Regions from separate parts of the Homo sapiens genome. Here region 2 is linked to region 1. The links are contacts of gene promoters, found by promoter capture Hi-C in blood cells and fetal thymus (Javierre and others, 2016). All regions are on one chromosome and are shown on one strand. Each heading gives the region's core, a stretch centred on a gene start or on the middle of the fragment in contact. The rest is flanking DNA. Distances are from core to core; before and after follow the strand shown. Region 1 holds the start of KDF1 (keratinocyte differentiation factor 1). Region 2 overlaps WDTC1 (WD and tetratricopeptide repeats 1).

What was found. The method cuts DNA at HindIII sites, captures the fragments that hold promoters and counts their contacts. A CHiCAGO score of 5 or more calls a contact.
Region 2: a contact is called between a fragment that was not itself captured here and the fragment with the promoter of KDF1 in region 1, in 9 of 17 cell types (M0 macrophages, erythroblasts, endothelial precursors and 6 more). The highest score is 9.1, in M0 macrophages.

Annotation. Positions count from the first base shown.
Region 1 is chr1:26,957,664-26,964,619 of GRCh38, reverse strand. It overlaps KDF1 (keratinocyte differentiation factor 1), which reads left to right and starts at 4,152. Exons shown (of 4, transcript NM_152365.3): 1 at 4,152-4,270. RefSeq lists a silencer at 2,868-3,162 and an enhancer at 4,032-4,714. The HindIII fragment of the contact is 1,819 bases long and covers 3,893-5,711 here.
Region 2 is chr1:27,304,149-27,311,664 of GRCh38, reverse strand. It overlaps WDTC1 (WD and tetratricopeptide repeats 1), which reads right to left. Exons shown (of 16, transcript NM_001276252.2): 15 at 6,472-6,664; 16 at 3,029-5,479. The coding sequence ends at 5,282. Among named protein-coding and RNA genes, the nearest start is that of TMEM222, 14 kb to the left of the region's middle. RefSeq lists enhancers at 2,833-3,357, 3,358-3,883, 3,884-4,409. The HindIII fragment of the contact is 2,559 bases long and covers 1,405-3,963 here.

The DNA.
Region 1 (6,956 bases), core at 2,903-5,402:
GCCAGGCTGGTCTCAGACTCCCGATCTTAGGTGATCTGCCAGCCTCGGCCTCCCAAAGTGCTAGGATTACAGGCGCCCACTACCACGCCTGGCTAATTTTGTATTTTCAGTAGAGACGGGGTTTCACCATGTTGGCCAGGCTGGTTTCGAACTTCTGATCTCAAGTGATCCACCTGCCTCGGCCTCCCAAAGTGCTAGGATTACAGGCATGAGCCACTGTGCCTGGCCCAAGTGTCATTGATTTTTGACAGACTTTTTGAATACGCACCGTGGCAATGGGAAGGACCCTTCGGAACAGGGCCCAGTATCTTTGAGTGAGGGAGGGAGACGAGCAGAGAAAGGGGAGGTTTCAGTGTGGCTATAATTAGAATAACAGCTACCTTGTGCCTATTGCAAAACTCTTCACAAAACACTCACCAGAAAGCGTAGCCAGAGGTTCAGAGATCATATTTATTTATTTATTTCCTTCCTTCCTTCCTTCCTTCCTTTCTTCCTTTATTCTTTCTAGGCAAGGAAAGTAGCTCTGAGCTGCTTCAGTCATCATATTCTTATTAATCTACAGCATTTTAGGTACCACAGAATTAGAATTTTGTAGAGCAATTCTGCACTTCTACAGCTAAAGTTCTGGAAAAAGCAAAACTATGGAAACAGAAGAAAGATCAGTGGTTGTTAAGGGCTGGAGTCAAGGGGAGGAACTGACCACAGAGGGGTTCAGGGGAATTTCTGGGAGGTGATGGAACTGATCTATATCTTGATTGCTGTGGCAGTTGTGCCATTGTATGCATTTTTCAAAACTCACAAAACTGTACACTAAAAAGGGTGAATTTTACTATAGGTAAATTATACCTTAATTTTTTCTTTTTAAAAAAAGAATGAATAAATAAATGGGGAGAAAACTAAATAATACTTAATACTCCCAGCTACTCGGGAGGCTGAGGTGGGAGGATTCCTTGAACCCAGGAGGCGGAGGCTACTGTGAGCCAAGATCACATCTCTGCACTTCAGACTGGGTGACAAAGTGAGACCCTGTCTCAAACAACAGCAACAACAACAACAACAACAAAAACTAAATAAGAACCTAGGCCAGGCGCAGTGGCTCACGCCTGTAATCCCAGCACTTTGGGAGGTCGACGCAGGCGGATCATTGAGGTCAAGAGATTGAGACCATCCTGGCCAACATGGTGAAACCCTGTCTCTACTAAAAATAAAAAAATTAGCTGGGCATGGTGGTGCACACCTGCAGTCCCAGCTACTTGGGAGGCTGAGGCAGAACTGCTTGAACCCGGGAGGCAGAGGTTGCAGCGAGCCGAGATCGTGCCACTGCACTCCAGCCTGGTGACAAAGCGAGACTCCATCTCAAAAAAATAAAATAAAATAAAATAAAATAAAATAAATAAGACCCTAGGCTCTCATGTGTTTGCGTATCTTGAGAACTTTGCAAGTGACACTAACTCTAATTATTTAGCATTAGAGCATAAACTTCTATTTTTTCATTCATTCATTATAAAATGAAAGCCCCTGAATCCACTATTCACAAAAACCAGAACATTGCTAAAAATTAAATCTACCTATGGGTTTCTCTCCCACAGGTAGATTTAATAGGAGGATCCCTGCATCCTCCCCCAGGTAATTTTGTGTGTGTGTGTGTGTGTGTGTGTGTGTGTGTGTGTGTGTGTGTGGTGTGTTCCAGGCTGGAGGGCAGGGCAGTGGTGTTAATATGGTTCACTGCAGCCTTGACCTCCTGGGCTCAAGCAATCCTCCTGCCACAGCCTCCCAAGTAGCTGGGACCACAGATGCATGACCAGCCTTTTTTTTTTTTTTTTTTTCCTTCCATAGAGACAGGTCCTTCTATGTTGCCCAGGCTGGTCTTGAAGTCCTGGGCTCAACCAAACCTCCCAAATCCTTGGCTTCCCAAAGTGCTGGGATTATAGGCATGAGCCACCATGCCTAGCCCCCCAGGTATTCATTATTCTGAACTTTGTGTTTCTCATTCCCTTGCTCTTTTCTTTCTTTTCTTTTTTGAGATAGGGTCTTGCTATGTTGCCCAGGCTGGTCTTGAACTCCTTGGCTCAAGAGATTCTCTTGCCTCAGCCTCCCAAGTAGCTGGGATTACAGGCCCAGGCTATTGCACCCAACGCCTTGCTCTTTTCTTAGTTTTTTTTCACGTAAAAATTAGGCTGAAGCACATGAATCTGCCATTACTTTTAGATCAAAACAGGTCAAATAACAGCAAATTCATATGGTTCAACCAAATATTATGCTTAGATGCAGTAGTTCTAGTTATTTTTGAATCATATATAAAGGATGTCATTCCATATGTAGTCTTCTGAGATTTGCCTTTTTTCAATCCAATATTATATTACCATGATCCAACCATGTTGCTATTTTTCATTCATTTTCTACTGCTCTATAATTAATTCCTTTGCATGAATATCCCACATTTCTCTATCTCCTGTCAGTAGCATTTCCGTGTTTTCGGTTTGGGGCTACCACAAACAATGTTTCTAGTAACATTCTTGTATACATTCTCTCCTGGTGCATTGCACAAGAGCTTACTGTGGCTGTACCATAGGAATGGACTTGCTAGGTTTTAGAGTACACAGATGTTCAACTGCACAAGATGTGACTGTGAAGTGAGGATGTGACTCATTCTCTGAGCTCCAAATAAGAATACAATGTGCACTTTCCTCAGGAGGGAATGTGGACAAGATGTGGTGGGAGGCGCTGGGATGGAGGGTCTCTGGTGGAAATTGAACACCTATGCCTAATGCATCCCAGTGATATCTTCCTGTTGCATCCATGATCTCTTTTAATCCTCCCAGTTAAAGAGAGGTACTACTATCTCCAGAGATTAGGTTTAGAGAAGGAAAGTGCCTTGCCAAAAGTCAGTTTGTGCCAACTGCCTGAGCAAACAATGTCCCCTCTCTAAGCTTCAGTTTCCTCTTACTGTAAAATGGATATGATAATACCTGACCCACTTCACAGATTAACGGCTTCGGCATGCATGGCTCCTGGAGATGCTCCCTAAAAGTCACTTGTTTGTTTGTTTGTTTTGTTTATTTGAGACAGAGTCTCGCTCTGTCGCCCAGGCTGGAGTGCAATGGCGCGATCTCGGCTCACTGCAACCTCTGCCTGCTGGGTTCAAGCCATTCTCCTGCCTCAGCCTCCCGAGTAGCTGGGATTACAGGCACTTGCTACCATGCTAGGCTAATTTTTTGTATTTTTAGTAGAGACTGGGTTTCACTATGTTGGCCAGGCTGGTCTCAAACTCCCACCTCGCGATCCTCCCGCCTCGGCCTCCCAAAGTGCTGGGATTACAGGCATGAGCCACTGCGCCCGGCCAAGTCACTTGTTTATTAATGCTATTGTTAAGTTATTGAGTTGTTATTAATATTAAGGGGAACAGTAACCCAGAATAGTCTGAGCCTTGCCTTATTGACATTCAATGGTGTTGCCTCTTGCAGAGACCTTTTTTGGATGTAGTGACCATGGCCCATTTTGGCCACCACTTCTGATCCTGGATGTATCTTTCAGAGCTGCATATCCGGTCCCCCTCCTCTACCCTACTCGGGGCCTCAGAGCTGAGGTTCCTGTCTTTACCTGCAGATTTCTCTGAACAAAAGAAAAGGTAAACTGATCAGCGGCCCAGGCTCCCAGTTCTGCCTCAGGGCAAAGGGAGAAATTGGGGCCCAGGGCCTCATTCAGTGGAAAATATTTGTTGAACACCTAGTATGTGCCAGGACCTGTGCTGAGCACCAGGAACACAGGGGAACAAGACCAAACCCTGCAAGGTAGGAGGCTAAAGGAGGAGACAGAAGACAACAAAACGACAGTGTGCTGAGTACAGGGACTGTTCTAACCAACAGAAAAACAGACAGGATCAGGGAAAGCTTCCCAGAAGAGAGCTTCCCTTTGAGTTGGAGCTTTACGGCCGGGCAGAAGTTCCACAGGTGCTCAGAGACTGACAGGACCACCAGCCTGTTGAACAGAAGAGGAGACTGAGCCCCAGCGCCTCTCGACCCCTCCCCGCCACACCTCACCTACCCGGACTAGGCTGAACGGGCCGAGCACTCGAGCGGGGACGCGCAGCTCTGCAGAGCCCCGGGGCGGGGCCTCGGTCCAGGTGCGCGGTAGCGCTTCGCGGAGGCAGGAAGTGTGTCCCTAGCGGCGGCCCGTGCAGCGCTCCCGCGAGACGCTCACCTGCGCCCCAGGTGAGCGGCGAGGGGGCGGGGGAGGGGCTGAGCCGGAGGCGGCTCACCTGGCGGGACAGGTAAGCCCGGCGCGGGCCCAGGGGGGCGCAAGCCAGGGCGGCGCCGGTGTCGGGAGCCCCCCGAAGCTGAGCCCGGACAGGAGAGGGTCCCGGGCCCGGTTCCTCGGGGGCCACCCTCCTACTTCCGGGGTGCGCGGGCCGGGCTGGGGAGCGGCCTGAGCGGGCGCCCGGGCTGGGCGCGCAGAATGGGGTGAGGGGCCGCGTTCGCCCTTAGGGCTGCACTGGCTGGGTGCGGGGGCCGCACTCACCGGGGGGCAGCGTCGGGATGGGACAAACGCTGGTGCTCACCCCGAGGAACAGCGTCGGGACGGGAGGGAGGCTGGGTCCGCCCGCGGGGTAGGGCCCTTGCAGCTGGAGAGGGTAGTGCTCGCCCCGAGGGCAGAGTTGGTGTAGGGGCTGTGGTAGCCCGGGGGACAGTGCCAGGATCTGGTTCTTCCTTGTCCCCAGGACTAGCTGCCCGCGGATATGGGACTCTCGGGCTGCACCTTTGGGGCAGGAGGCCGAGGGTGCACTGAGCCGACGGCTGTTTCTCGAGCAGGACTGGGGTGGTCCTCCCCGGCCGGGTGTCCGAGGCTTGGCACTGGGCTGGGGGCAGAGGCTGGTGCGGCCGGGCCTGTCCTGGGGACCCTCGGAGGAGGGGACGGTACATAGACCCTTGAGTGTGTGTGTGTGTTCGCGGGACTAAGGGGGAAGAGGAAAGCATCAACGAGAAATCCAGGGAGGGCGGGCCGGGACCCTCTGACCCCCGGGAACATCCTTGCGGTGCCTTAGATCGCCTAGTGACCTAGCCCCTCCCATGGGCAAGGCCACTGCGGGAAGCCCCCTGCACTCAATATTTCATTTAAATCTCACGGGATTGGCGGGGCATGAAGATACTAGTCTCTCCTTATTTAAAGATGAGGAAAGTGAGGTTAAGAATCTTGCCTCAAGCCACAATAGGGACAGGGAGTCTCCCCTCACTAAACCAAGTGACCAGGTTCCTAGGATTGGGCGGGGTGGTGGCGGGGCGGTGGCAGCAGGGTCGGGGAGATACAGCCTGGAAGAAACTGCCTGAGTTTGACTTCAGGAGGGTTCAATGGCTGGAGGGAAGTGGGGAACTGAGGCAGGCATTGTCCTTATCCCAGGTCTTCTCTTCTCATCCCACCACCGCTGGAGATGTGTGGCACACACAAAGTACGCAGGCTTCAGAGCCTGGCGGGCCACAGTGCAAATCTTACTCCAGCCCTCTCTTGCTAGGTGTCTCTGGGCCAGTCACTTCACCTTTCTGAGCTTCAGATTCCTGATCTGTGAAATGGAGATATACTACTTATTTTCAGAGCAATTGTGAGAGTCAAATAAGGTGAAAGTCCTCTGGCCCATTCACTGCTGTTTTCTCAGCATTTAGCACAACGCTGGGCACCTCGTTGTATTAATTTAATCAATAATAGAGAGTCCTAAAGCTTTGGAGGTTGGGGAGAAGACAATAGCCAGTCCATCCTCAGGAGCCCCACGTACTTCCGAGCTCAGCATGGTTAACTGTAGATCTGTCCACTCTCCTGAAGGCTTGAGCCTGGAAGACAGGGCTCCCAACATGGGCTCTCTCTGGGCACACGCTGGTCCATGGAGCTGGCAGCTTTGACTGCCTCTTTTCTCCCAAGTAATAGATGGGATGGGGTAGTGGATAAGAGTCTGGGGCCAGGCCAATTGTGTACAGATAGATGTATGGCTTTGGACAACTTATTTAACCTGTCTGTGCTTTAGTATAATAATACAGGTAATAATATTACAAAGAGGGTTGTGAAAATTAATTGGTTATTATGTCTGAAGTACTTAGAACAGTGTAAGCCATCAATAATCAACTCTCACTGGATTGTAAACTCCTGAGGTTGAGGGATTTTGTCTGTTTTATCACTTTATCCATAGAATTTAGAACAGCTAGGCCGGGCGCGGTGGCTCACGCCTGTAATCCCAGTACTTTGAGAGGCCGAGGTGGGTGGATCACGAGGTCAGGAGATCAGACCATCCTGACTAACATGGTGAAACCCCATCTCTACTAAAAATACAAAAAATTAGCCAGGCGTGGCACGCGCCTGTAGTCCCAGCCACTCAGGAGGCTGAGGCAGGAGAATCGCTTGCACCCGGGAGGCAGAGGTTGCAGTGAGCCAAGACCACGCCACTGCACTCCACTCCAGACTGGGCAACAGAGTGAGACTCCATCTCAAAAAAAAAAAAAAAAAAAAGAATTTAGAACAGCTGGCTGGGCGCGGTGGCTTATGCCTGTAATGTCAGCACTTTGGGAGGCTGAGGCAGGTGGATACTTGAGGTCAGGAGTTCGAGACCAGCCTGGCCAACATGGTGAAACCCCATCTCTATTAAAAATACAAAAAAATTAGCTGGGTGTGGTGGCATGCACCTGTAATTCCAGCTACTCAGGAGGCTGAGGCATGAGAATTGCCTCCACCTGGGAGGCAGAGGTTGCAGTGAGCCAAGATCGTGCCATGCACTCCAGCGTTGGTGACAGAGTAAGACTGTCTCAAATAATAATAATAATAATAATAAATCCAGCATGTGGCACACAGTGGGCCCTCAGTAAATATCTGTTAATTGCGTGAATGTGTGAATCCATACCCCACATTTCTCAAACTAAAGCAAAGATTTTTAACCACTTAGCTCAGATTGCAAGGGAATTTAAAATCACCTGTTAGAA
Region 2 (7,516 bases), core at 1,435-3,934, 350 kb before region 1:
TATATGACTCTTTTTTTTTCTTTTATGAGATGGCATCTCGTTCTGTCACCCAGGCTGGAGGGCAGTGGCGCGATCTCGGCTCACTGCAACCTCCGCCTCCCGGGTTCAAGCAATTCTCCTGCCTCAGCTTCCCAAGTAGCTGAGACTACAGGCACATACCACCATGTCCAGCTATTTTTTTGTATTTTTAGTAGAGACGGGGTTTCACCATATTGGTCAGGCTGGTCTCAAACTCCAGACCTCAGGTGATCCACCCACCTTGGCCTCCCAAAGTGCTGGGATTACAGGTGTGAGCCACCATACCCGGCCGGTATATGACTTTTAATTTTAAACTGCACCATGGAACAATCCTGCCCCATTACCTTCAAATTAATAAGATTGTTATTCTCAGTCTTGACTCCTTCCTTGGGCTTTTCATCAGCCACACGAGTGCTGGAGTCTCCTCAGCTGCTACTTCACCAATGAGGCACCAGGTCTGCACAGAATGAATGAGCACACAAACGGCACCAGGAGAGGCAGAAGGAGGTGGAACAGTGGAACTATTCTGGGTCTGCTACATTTTCATGTAAACTTTAGGATCAGTTGGTGATACTCACAAAATAACTTGCTGGGACTATGACCAGGATCACATTGAAGCTATAGATCAAGTTGGAAAGAACTGACATCCTAATATTGAGTTTTCCTATCCGTGAACATGGACCATCTCTCCATTTACTTGATCTTCCTTGGTTTCTTTTATCAGTTTTGTAGTTTTGCTCATACAAACCTTGTACATATGTTGTTAGATTTATTCCTAAGTACTTTTTTGGGGGGATGCTAATGAGGGCTGAATACGTGGAGGACAAGGTGCTTTTAGAACAGTGAAACTATTCTGTATGACAATGTAATGGTGGATACGAGACATGCATTTGTCAAAACCCATAGAACTTTGCAACACAAAGAGTGAACCGTAATGTAAACTATGGACTTCAGTTATCATAATGTATCAATATTGGTTCATTAATTACAACAACACACTAATGCAAGATGTTAATAATTGGGAAAATTGAGCTGGGGAAAGAGGGTTATATGAAACTCATTATACTATCTGCTCAATTTTCTGTAAGCCTAAAACTGCTCTAGAAAGTAAAGGCTATTAATTTTTTAAAAAATGGAGTACCAACTCCAAATGAAATGGAGACCCTCGTGAAGTCTTCCAATGCCTCCCTTGCCTACAGGATTGAGTCTGTGGTCTCTCACCAGCCATAGGAAGTCCTTCAGTTTGACTGCTCCTCCAGTCTACCCTCTACAATCCAGCCAGATGGAGTCACTCAGGGTTCATGAAGGAACCTGAGACTCTGCACTACTCCCTGGTCTGGAACATTGTCCTTCCTTTGTCTGGTCTGGAAATGCCTTCAAGAAGCTTCTGCAGACGTTAATTTGGGTACACAGAGGAATGATACCAGCCCACAGTATCTGTTTTATAATACCACCTATTGTGTTTCCGGCAGGACCTCTCAGTAGTTTCAGTAGTGGAACTGCTATTCCCACAGACTAAACCATAGTTCCCCAACTGTGCATCAAGGTGCCTGAGGGCACCCACAGCAAATTCACAGGGGGCAAAGTAGGATATTTTGAAAGATATTCAACATCTTTGGCTAATGAGAGAACTATTAGCTCAAGGTAGTTCACAGTTCCATTATTACATTATGCCACAATCCTTTTGATGATGTCATCTTTAAGAAGCTGGGTCTTGGCCGGGCGCAGTGGCTCATGCCTGTAATCCCAGCACTTTGGGAGGCCGAGGCGGGTGGACCACAAGGTCAGGAGAGCGAGACCATCTTGGCTAACGTGGTGAAACCCCATCTCTACTAAAAACATAAAAAATAAGCCAGGTCTGGTGGCAGCTGCCTGTAGTCCCAGCTACTCAGGAGGCTGAGGCAGGAGAATGGCATGAACTCAGAAGGTGGAGCTTGCGGTGAGCCGAAATCGCACCACTGCACTCCAGCCTGGGCAACAGAGCAAGACTCCGCCTCAAAAAAAAAAAAAAAAAAAAAAAAGAAGCTGGGTCTTTAGTGGTTGCTGTGATAAAAAGCAAATGAAAATCAATGTGGGACAGGAAATGAAGGCAGCAGTGTTTGCTTTGATTAGAAAATTTAACAAGTTGTTCAGTGCCCAATGGGCAGCATAGATCCCATTAGTAATTGCAGTTGTTTAAGAATGAAGGCTGGGCGCGGTGGCTCACACCTGTAATCCCAGCACTTTGGGAGGTTGAGGCGGGCAGATCACCTGAGGTCAGGAGTTTGAGACCAGCCTGGCCAAGGTGGTGAAACCCCATCTCTGCTAAAAATACAAAAAATTAGCTGGGTGTGGTGGCGGGCACCTGTAATCCCAGCTACTTGGGAGGCTGAGGCAGGAGAATCGCTTGAACCCAGGAGGCGGAGGTTGCAGTGAGCCGCAATTGCACAATTGCACTCCAGCCTGGGCGACAAAAACGAAACTGTCTCAAAAAAAAAATAAAAAATAAAAAATAAATAAAAATGCAAAAAAAAAAAAATAGCTGGGCATGGTGGCACATGCCTGTAATCCCAGCTACTTGGGAGGCTGAGGTAGGAGAATCACTTGAACCCGGGAGGCGGTGGTTGCAGTGAGCTGAGATCATGCCACTGCACTCCAGCCTGGGCAACAGAGCAAGACTCCGTCTCAAAAAAAAAAAAAAAAAAAAAGAATGAAATAAATATTGTTTCTTCCAATTCAGGTGTATTATTTTTTAAATGGCAACTAACTTGTTAGGACATAAATACTTTTTAAGTGATTTGGACTTAACTACTTAATAAATTGAACTGTTATTTCTTTTGGCTTAGAGGCTCCATGAAAAAATTACTGAGATGGTAATGGTGCTGTGAGCTAAGAAAGTTCAGGAACCTATAGTCTAAGAGATTATCTAATCCAGGGCACTTCAAAAACTTGCATATGTGAAATCAATTTAGTGGGTTATAGCCATATTTTTTTCCCTAATAAAACAGAAGGGTAAGCAGAGTACACTGCATGTAGCAAGGGTAAATATTATTGTGTAAAACTTTTGTTCATTTTTTTTATATATATATACACACACACATATCTACAAGTAATCATGTGTATATTGGGTCACAATGTAAAATGGTTTGAAAAACCACTAAGATTCCAAGTCCCTTATTTTACTGATGAGAAAACAGCCAGAGAGTGAAAGCTGATGATTACAAATCACAGCCATGAGAGCTGGGCTCTGCACTCAGCCCTGCTGGGCTGGGTGGCCGCTGCTCACGGTGACCCTTCAAGGCAGGCCTCATTCTGTCCAGTAGAGGTGTGGTTACTAAGTCATAGAGCTACAGAGGTGAGGGACCAGGTGCCCTCACTTTGGTTCCAAGACCCATCTGCACCCCACAAATGCCACCAGCCACACCTAGAACAAAATGGTTTTAATCAATTGCGTCACCCTCACTCTCCTGGGAGCGGAGCAACAAAAAGGCTCGGCTCCTGCCCCCAGAGGACAGTAAGGCTTATGTGTCTCTCCACACTGCAGGGCCCAGGCTGGGCAGGCAGGGGGTGGGAAGCAGGACAGGGGGCAGGGAGGGAGGGTGGGAGGCAGGGAGGAAATGGCAGGTGGCTGGAACACAAGAAAGCAAAGGGGACCCAGCTGGTCCTTGGGCCCCAGGGCCCAGCCCCAATACTCCTGCTCTCCCTTCTCCCTGGCTAGAGAAAGGTCACGGAGAAGAGACAGGGGAGCAGGTCCCAGCAGCAGGAGAAGCAGCAGCAGCTGTTTCCTTCACCAATAAATATACTTCATTACCAAGCTAGAAGAGAGGGGTGGGAAGAGGGACTGGGGTGGGAAGGAAGGGGGAGAAGCTGCCACCTGTGTTGCTGGGATTAAAGCAATGAGATGGTGCCAGACCCCCCACCACTATCCTCACCCTCCACTTGTCTTCTTAAAACTGTGAAAAAGCTTTTAACATGGCCCTCCTGTCTCCAGGGCTGCTCTGAAGCCTGACTGAGAGGAGGCACCTGGCAGAGACAGGGGCTGAGGGAGGGAGCGAGGGAGTGGAGGGAGAGGAGAAGGGAGGCTGCTTTTCCCCAGGGGCTGCAGCTGGAGGGCTGGAGCCAAGTAAGCACTGAAGGGGAAGCAGGGAGGGAGAGAGGGGGAAGGATGAACCAACTACCTGGAGCAGCTGGAGCTAAGAGCCGGGGGCAGAGGGGAGGAGAGGCCTGGTGAGTGGTGGGTTGATCGCTGCATCCAGTGTAAAGCTTGGGGCTGCTGGGGAGGGAGGGGCCGAGTAAGGGACTTTCCCATCTGAGTGGCTCAGGAGACCCACCCCTCTCCCCTCAGAGCAGCAGGGGACAGAGAAAAGCCATCACTTCTTTGGTCTTTGTGGCGGCTCAGCATGTGGGATGGGAAGGAGGGCAGAAAGGGCAGAGAAGGGCCCTTAGCAGGAAGCGCCACCTCAGCAGAGTAGGCCTGGCTGGGAGCTCTGGCAGAAAGGTCACAGTGAGGCTGAGGAGCGCCCAAGAGGAGAATGGCCGTAGTGCAGAAGTGCTGGCATGGATGGGTGGGGTAAGGTGCAGTGCCCCACCCTCTGCCAGGGCCCTTGGGAAAGGCAGAGCCTCCAGAGGTGGCCAGTGAGAGTAGGTGCAGGGCCAGAGCTAGTAGCCAGGAGAGGAGCGAGGGTGCTCCACAGCGACCTCAGCAGGTGGCCTGGTCTTGCCCACTCCAGGGCTCCCATCCTTCCTTTGGGCTCCGCTCTAACACTGGTGGCTCTGGAGGGAGGGTGGGACCCATCCTTTTTCAAAACCTTTCCTGAAGACCACAGGGGAGCTAGCCTTGCAGGCTAGGGAGCAAGAGTGGCAACAGGCCAAGGCGAGCCCTTACCAATTGGGAATCCCACTCCTCCTGCTGCTGCCAGCTAAAGGGCAGGACAGTCCCTGAAGACAGTTCAGCTTGTTCCTCCCCACCTGAGGCAGAAGGGGTTTTGAGGCAGGCCAGAGCCCTCCAGGGACATGAAAGCAGGAGATGGGGGGGGGCATATGGAGGGGTGTCCCCTCCTGCTCTTTTTTTCAGGGCTGGGGATAGTCAGGGGACAATCAGCCCAGAGTCCGAAAGCCAGCAAGTTGTAGCAACCTCCACCCCTAACGCCAAACTAACAAACAAAACAGGGGAAATGAAAAAAAAGGGTGGTGGGGAAGACAAACCAAAACAGAATCCCCTGACCTCCTGCCCAGGGCAGAGGGTCCAGCCAGTAGCAGGGGCTGGGGACCAGGGCTGGAGGGTCTAGCTGGGCCGGCACTGCACCTGGCCCTCAGAGCTGTCCTCATCATCAGAGGCCCCGGCACCCCCACTGCTCAGGCCCGTGATCCGGTAGCCCATGTTGAGCAGCATCACCTCCAACGGGTCTGCATTCATGCGCCGCTGGTTGGCCTGTGAAGCACCCTCCATATCTTCCACGACTCGGCCTGTGAGGTCTTCACTCTGTGGTGGAGAAAGGGGTGACACACGTGGGGCTCAGGGAGGGAGAGGCACCAGGGTACACGTATAGGGGAGGGGGAGGGAAATACACAGACTAAACTATCTATAGGGGGAGGTACACATACATGCCAGGAGGTGTATATGGTGGAGGGGAACACACAACCTTGGCTACATATTGTTGGGGGTGCTCACGCTGGAATATATATGGGAGATACGCCACCTCAGGATATACAGGCAGGTCATAACATGCTGGGATATACGTGGGGGACAGTACACACCAGGATATGTTGGACACACATACTGGGATACCTGGGACAAGGGGCAGATACAACTTCCCCACCCCATTCTGTTTTGTTGCCACAACTCTTGCTTCATCTTTCTTTCTCCTCTCCTCTCAATGGGGAAGCCTATAGGGGTCCTCTCTTTAAAAGTCACAGCAAATTATCTTGGGAATCAGACATACCACTTGACTTTTGTTTTGCCAGCTGGGAAGAGGGAAGCAGTAGGGCAGAGGGGAAGGGGAGGCACCAAGCCAGCTTCCCTGGCTACCCACCCTGGGAGTGGAGGGGACTCCACTGTCCTAAGTGTCCTTGTGGGCTGGACACTTCACAGGCATCTCTTCTTTACTTCTCACCACAACCTTTCAAGGTGGTGCTGTCATTCCCATTCCCAATGTACAGATGATTAAAAGCCTGGGTCAGAGATGGTGAAGTCTCTCAGGCAGCGAGTGAGGAGACTGGATTCAAACTTAGGCCTACCAGATGCCAAAGCCTGCATAGTTCCCTTGTGACCAGGGCCTCTGCACAGCTTCTGGAGAATTGCTGCTGCATTTGGAGCTTCTGGAATCTGAGAACACAGCCTTGGGCCCCGGGGTAAGGCTTACTTAGCAGCTTCTAGCCTCTGGGTGGCTCATTTCTCTTCCCTGCGCTAGCAGGCTCCACTGGAGCCTTCCACAGAGTCCCTGCCCTCCTCTCTGCTTGGCTCTGCACCCTCACCTCTGGTCGGGGGTTCCAGAGCCGCACAACAGGATCGATGCCACTGGTGGCCAGGAAGCAGTAGCTGGGGTGTGGCTGCAGGCAGTTGACAATGGACTCATCCCCTTGGAGCACACGGACCAGGTTGGTGGTCTCCTTTTCCCAGATGAAGAAGGAGCCATCGTCAGAGCCACTGACGATATACTGAGCGTTGCTGGCGGGGGGGCAAAGGGCAGGGAGGTCAGGTGGGGTACTGCCCTACAGCCTCAAGTAGAGGCTGCATGGCCTAGGTAAAGGGGGAGCAAGGAAGTCTGCAGCCACTCAGTCCCCCACACGCTGGGGTGTGCACTTGACCCAGAATTCCTCCAGGTATATAGCCCTGGTCACTGTTCTCTTAAACCTAGGGCCAGCGACTACCTGGATTTCTCCAAGACAGTCTCCCCTATAGTTCATTATTACCTCCTTGGGCCAGGATCATCTTACATCATCTCTCGGGTCTCCAAAATACCCTGTTTTAAGCCTCCCCTGAGCAGTTCCAGGCTTCTGGCATCCAGACTCCCCCTGCCCCTCACACACCACTGACATTTAGAGGGCATCTTGATGGATTCTTTTTTTTTCTTAGAGACAGGGTCTCATTCTGTCACCCAAGCTGGAGTACAGTGGCATGATCATGGCTCACTGTGGCCTTAACTGGTCCTCCAATGTCAACCTCCTGAATAGCTGGGACTACAGGTGCACGTCACCACACCCAGATAATTTAAAACATTTTTTGTAGAGATGGGGGTCTATGCTGTCCAGGCTGGTCTCAAACTCCTGGGCTCAAGCGATCCTCCTGCTTCAGCCTCCCCAAGTGCTGGGATTACGGGCATGAGCCACTGTGCCTGGCCTATGGAGAGATTCTTGATTCATGTTCATGTGTCTCACCTACCCAAAGAAAGTACATCTACAAATGAGGGGTGGGGATGATGGTGTCTGAAACACAGAGTTTGTCCCTTAGTACACAGGGCACAGTTTTGAGCACAAAACAGATGTGCCAAGATTCCCAGCCTTGGAGGGCTGCTGCCTC